2 separate regions of the Homo sapiens genome follow, and region 1 is linked to region 2. Evidence: promoter capture Hi-C in human tissues and cell types (Jung and others, 2019). All regions are on one chromosome and are shown on one strand. Each heading gives the region's core, a stretch centred on a gene start or on the middle of the fragment in contact. The rest is flanking DNA. Distances are from core to core; before and after follow the strand shown.

Region 1 (2,945 bases), core at 34-2,533, 270 kb after region 2:
CTCCAGCCTGGGCAAAAGAGTGAGACCTGGTCTGATAAAAAAAAAAAAAAAAAAAAAAAAAAAGTCCAGGCACAGTGGCTCGCACCTGTAATCCCAGCACTTTGGGAGGCCAAGGTGGGCTGACTGCTCAGGAGTTTGGGACTAGCCTGGGCAACATGGCGAAACCCATCTCTACCAAAAATAAAAAATAAAAAAAAACAGCAGGGCATTGTGGCATGTGCCTTTGGTCCCACCTACTCAGGAGGCTGAGGTGAGAGGATCGCTTGAGCCTGGGAGGCAGAGGTTGAAGTCAGCCATGATTGCACTACTGCACTCCAGCATGGGTGACAGAGCAAGACCCTGTGTCAAAAACAAAAAAAAAAAGGAAAGAAAGAAAACACAGCTAACTTCATAATCAATGGTGAAAAGCTTCCCCTAAGATCAGGAACAATATGAGGATGCTCACTTTCATCACTCCTATTCAAAATTTTACTAAATGTCTTAGCCAGAGCAATTAGGCAAGAAAAAGAAATAAAAGGCATTCAAATTAGAAAGAAGAGGTAAATTATATATGCAGGTGACATGATTCTGTATAAAGAAATCCCACAGAACCCACAAAATAACTACTAGAGGTAATAAATTCAACAAGGTTGTAGGGCATAAGACCAACATACAAAAATCAGTTGTTTCTATATACCAGCAATGAGCAATACAAAAAGAAAGGTAAGAAAATAATTTCATTTACAATAGAACCCACAAAAATAAAGCACCCAGAAATAAATTTATCCAAAGAGATGAATGATTTGTACACTAACACTACAAAATATTGCTTAAAGAAATTAAAGGAGACATAATTGAATGAAAAGACATCCCAAGTTCAGCTGGGCGCGGTGGCTCATACCTGTAATCCCAGCACTTTGGGAGGCCGAGGTGGGTGGATCACGAGATCAGGAGATTGAAACCATCCTGGCTAACACAGTTAAACCCCGTCTCTACAAAAAATACAAAAAATTAGCCAGGCATGGTGGCAGGTGCCTGTAGTCCCAGCTACTCGGGAGGCTGAGGCAGGAGAATGGCATGAACCCGGGAGGCGGAGGTTGCAGTGAGCCGAGACTGTGCCACTACACTCCAGCCTGGGGAACAGAGCGAGACTCCCTCTCGAAAAAAAAAAAAAAAAGAAAAGAAAAGACATCTCACGTTCATGGATTGGAGGACAATACTGTTAAGATTGCAACCCCCCAAAGCAATCTACAGAATCAATCCCCTCCCTATTAAAATTCCAATGACCTTTTTTGCAGAAATGAAAAAGGTGATATTCAAATTCATATAAAGTTGCAACTGGCCCCAAATAGTCAAAACAATATAGAAAATGAAAAAGTTGGGAGACTCATACTTCCCAAACTTACTACTTCAAAACTTACTACAAAGCTTCAGTAATCAAAACAGTGTGTGATATGGTTTGGCTGTGTCCCCATCCAAATCTCATATTGAATTGTAGCTCATATAATCCCCACATGTTATGGGAAGGAACCCAGGGGGAGGTAACTGAATCGTGGGGGTGCTGTTCTCATGATAGTAAGTCTCACAAGATCTGATGGTTTTATAAAGCACAGTTCCCCTGCACAGACTCTCTTGCCTGCTGCCATGTGAGACATACCTTTCCTCCTTCTTTGCCTTTCACCATGATTGTGAGGCCTCCCCAGCCATGTGAAACAATGAGTCCATTAAACCTCTTTTTCTTTATAAATTACCCTGTCTCAGGTATGTCTTTATTAGCAGCATGAGAACAGACTAATATAGTGTGGTACTGATGTAACAGACTTACAGAGCAACAGAATAGAACTGAGAGTCCAGAAATAAATGCAAACATCTATGGCCAATTTATTTTTAACAAGGGTGCCAAGACGATTCAATAGGGAAAGAATAGTGTTTTCAATAAATGGTGCTGGGAAAACTAAATAAGAACATACAAAGAATGAATTGGGACTCCTATCTCATTCCATATACAAGAATTAACTGAAATGGATCAAAAACCTAAAGGTAAAAACTAAAACAATAAAACTCAGAAGAGGCTGAGTGCAGTGGCTCACACCTATAATCCCAACACTTTGGGAGGCTGAGGTGGGTGGATCACTTGAGGCCAGGGGTTCTAGACCAGCCTGTGCAACATGGCAAAACCCCATCTCTACTAAAAATACAAAAATTAGCCAGGCATGGTGGCGTGTGCCTGTAGTCCCAGTTACTCAGGAGACTGAGGCATGAGAATTGCTGGAACCCAGGAGGCGGAGATTGCAGTGAGCCAAGATCATGCCACTGCACCACTGCACTCCAGCCTGGGCAACAGAAGGAGACTCGGTCTCAAAAAAAAGAAGAAAAAAAAAAAGTTTAACATTCAGAATATATAAAGAACTCAACAAACATTGTCTTCCCTCCAAAAATACACAAATGGCCAAGAGTCACATGAAAAGACATTCAATATCTTTGCTCATCAAGAAAATACAAACCCAAACCACGAGATACCACTTTAACTAGAATAGCTTTAAACAAAAATATATACATACATATACACATACCACACACACACACACACACACACACACACATATATCCTTTTGTAGTTCATAAGTGTGATTGGGTATTCAAATGAAGGTGTGAGAGGTGCCACTCTGAAACCTTGTTATGACGTCGGCACATTACCCATATGACATGAAAAAGAAACAAAACAAAAAAAATAAATTTAGCAAAGATGTCCTGAAATTGGAACACTGCTGGTGGGAATAAGTTAAACACGATATTACCGTATGACCAGCAATTCCACTCCTAGGTATATACCCAAGTGAAATAAAAACATACCTACACAGAAACTTGTACACAAATGTTTATAGCAGCATTATTCTTAATAGTCAGTGAAAATAATCCAAATGCCCATGAACAAATGAATAGACAGATTGTGGCATGTATGTACA
Region 2 (3,047 bases), core at 143-2,642:
GCGATCTTGGCTCACTGCACTTTCGCCTCCCGGGTTCAAGTAATTCTCCTGCCTTAGCCTCTCGAGTAGCTGGGACTACAGGCGCGCGCCACCACGCCCGGCTAGTTTTTTGTATTTTAGTAGAGACGGGGTTTCACCGTGTTGCCCAGGCTGGTCTCGAAGTCCTGAGCTCAGGCAATCCGCCCACCTCGGCCTCCTAAAGTGCTGGGATTACAGGTGTGAGCCACCGCGCCAGGCCCACTCCTATTTTTAGCTCCAGAGATTAGTTTTGCTTCAGGCTCCCTTAACGTCCTGCTTCAAACCCCTATCTGCCCCTTCATCGGCTCCACCTGGAGGCCACCGCTTCCACGGAAGCATGACCCCTTCCCCTGCACCCGCGCGCCCCAGAAGCTCTCAGATACCCCCACGATTTCGGTGACCTTCCGCAAGCTCCAGGAAAAGCCCCTCCTCTCCTGACGCCAAGGGTTTGTTGGGGTTGGGGGGTATCTCCATCAGCCTCCCTCCCCCAGCCACCCAAATTAACCAACAATCTTAGTAAATGCAGCGACTCGCTAGGCAAACCCAGCCTGGAGACAAATATCCGGCCCCTTTCCTACCAAACTGTCACACCTAGGCATTGGTCTGCAGGGAGGGCTGGACAGTGGAAACTGAAACCCTCTGCAAGCCATCACGAATCCACCGGGCACTGGGGACGCTGGCTCCCGCCTTGGCAGCATCCCCCAGAAGCCTGGGCCCTGACCCCACACCGTCTGGGCCTCAGTCTCTCATCGGTAAAGTCAGGGGTAGGGCCCGAGTCTTCCAGGACCGCTTCGAGCTGGGACAAGCCGTTTTAAATAGCCCACAACCCGCCGAGGCCATCAGAGCTGCGCCTGCCGGGCCGCCCTCGACCCCCACCTCGGCCGGGCAGGTCCGAGGCCCCGCAGGCAACATGGGCCCGCGGACTGCGGGACGGGGCTCGACGGCCTGAGATCGCGACTCTGCCTCTCCGATACTTGGGGTCGTCTTCGGCCCCGGGATCCGCGACGCGCGCGGTCGGACCCCGAATACTGAAGGCACCGGGTCCGCAGGGCGAAGGCGCACACGCCCACCAGGCGCGCTCTGCGCATGCGCGGGCTCCGCAATCTCAGCGGCCCACTCGCCCCGCCCCGCCCCCCCCACCCCCACCCCGCGCCGCTCCCCAGGCCCGGCCCTGCCTTCCCAGCATCCCGGCTCCCTACGGCAAGCGGCGAGGCCCGAGCCCGCCGGGAGCAGGGAGCCGGGCGCGGGGCGGGGCGGCGCGCTGAGGTCAGCGCGGCGGCGGCCGGCCCCGTAGTGGTTGGCTGCGCTGGTGCTGGCCGCGCCCTGGTTGGCTGCGGGCCGCGGGGCTGGGCCGCCGGGTCGGGGCTGGGGTCGGGCTCGGGCGCCGGCCGGGCTTGCGCAGCGCTAGGCTCCTCGCCGCTCCTAGTCTGCGGCGGCGGCGGCGGGGAGGGCGCGGCCGCGGGCGGGGCTGAGGGCGGCGGGGGCGGGCCGCCCGAGCTGGGAGGGCGGCGGCGCCGAGGGGAGGAGAGCGGCCCATGGACCCGCGGGGCCCGGCGCCCCAGACTCTGCGCCGTCGGGACGGAGCCCAAGATGTCGGCCTAGGCCGGGGCGCGACGACGCGGACGGGGCGGCGAGGAGGCGCCGCTGCTGCCGGGGCTCGCAGCCGCCGAGCCCCCGAGGGCGCGCCCTGACGGACTGGCCGAGCCGGCGGTGAGAGGCCGGCGCGTCGGGAGCGGGCCGCGCGGCACCATGTCGGCCAAGGTGCGGCTCAAGAAGCTGGAGCAGCTGCTCCTGGACGGGCCCTGGCGCAACGAGAGCGCCCTGAGCGTGGAAACGCTGCTCGACGTGCTCGTCTGCCTGTACACCGAGTGCAGCCACTCGGCCCTGCGCCGCGACAAGTACGTGGCCGAGTTCCTCGAGTGGGGTAAGTGCGCGCCGGCAGGGCCGGACCTGCGGCTCTGCGACCCCCGCGCCCCAGCCCGCGCATCCCCACGCCCGCCCATCCCCGCCCGGACAGACCCTGCCGCCCTCCTGCCCACCCAGCTCGTGGGCTTCGCCTCCTCTCGCTCTGGCAGCGCCCCCAGGCCCGCAGCCCATCTCTCTCCAGCCGCTCCTTGCACCCTCGTCCCTCCGCTAGCTTTTCATCCCTCCTTGCCCTCCCTAGGCTCGACATCCGCGTTCGATCGTCCCGCCCCCTCATCCTGCCCCTTGGAGCCACATCCTACGTTCCCACTCCCACCCCCTCCCCCCCGCCGGGCCCTCGCCCTGGCGGCTTCCTAGATCCACCCTCCGAGTCTGGATATCATTTCCTGCAGCACTCACTGGGATATCCGCCCCCGCCCCCGCCCCCGCCCCCGCACCTCGCCTTTGGGGTCCGGAGGCAGTGTGGAATTAGTTCCCTTTCCCCACCCCACGCTTCTCTGCGTTGTGGGGGCAGCTGGGTGTGCTTTCTGCATCTGCCTCGCCCACTGCCCCGTGGGACCCCCTTGCATCCCCAGGGAGCCCAGCTCTAACGGCCCCTCCTGGGTGACAGCCTGTCTACATCCCCTTGTTGGTCAGAGCCTGAATACCTACTTTGCTGTAACACCTTCAAGGGAATTTTAAGGTTAAGGCTTTATTTTAAATAAACCGTGCAAGAGGACTTTTTTTTTTTAATTCCAATTCTGCTAGACCTTTGTGATATTTGGAGGGGTAGCTGGAGCTATCACTTAGAAACTTTCTCATCTGAATTTTGCATGCCTTCTCTAGTTCGTTCCGGATCTATAATGTTTTAATCATTGGTCAGCTAACCTATTATGCTTTTTTAGGACAAAAATTTGATTAAACCATTTAACGATAATTAGGATCCTAAAGACAGGTAAAAGTGCAGCGTGAAACTCTTTTACTTCATCTCTCCCTAACGGGTGTGCCGGTCAAGACCCTCAGACTGTCTCACCTAAAACCACTGAGTAGGAGGAGGAAATGCGTATGTTCAGGCCAAACCTATGAAAACCTTATCCTTGGGTCATTTGCGTCACTGGGCTAGGACT

Evidence for each region. The method cuts DNA at HindIII sites, captures the fragments that hold promoters and counts their contacts. A contact is called where the count stands out against the background at its distance.
Region 1: a fragment that was not itself captured here is called in contact with the fragment with the promoter of CDC42BPB in region 2 in 1 of the 25 tissues and cell types used here (dorsolateral prefrontal cortex).

The regions. Positions count from the first base shown.
Region 1 is chr14:102,789,232-102,792,176 of GRCh38, reverse strand. The region is part of intron 1 of TRAF3 (TNF receptor associated factor 3); the gene reads right to left. It overlaps LOC124903426 (small nucleolar RNA U13), which reads left to right and starts at 2,586; the gene lies at 2,586-2,686. RefSeq lists an enhancer at 1,640-1,709. The HindIII fragment of the contact is 5,003 bases long and covers 1-2,945 here.
Region 2 is chr14:103,055,894-103,058,940 of GRCh38, reverse strand. CDC42BPB (CDC42 binding protein kinase beta) reads left to right here and starts at 1,392. Exons shown (of 37, transcript NM_006035.4): 1 at 1,392-1,942. The coding sequence starts at 1,768. RefSeq lists an enhancer at 255-905 and silencers at 901-1,010, 1,051-1,550, 1,641-1,720. The HindIII fragment of the contact is 24,533 bases long and covers 1-3,047 here.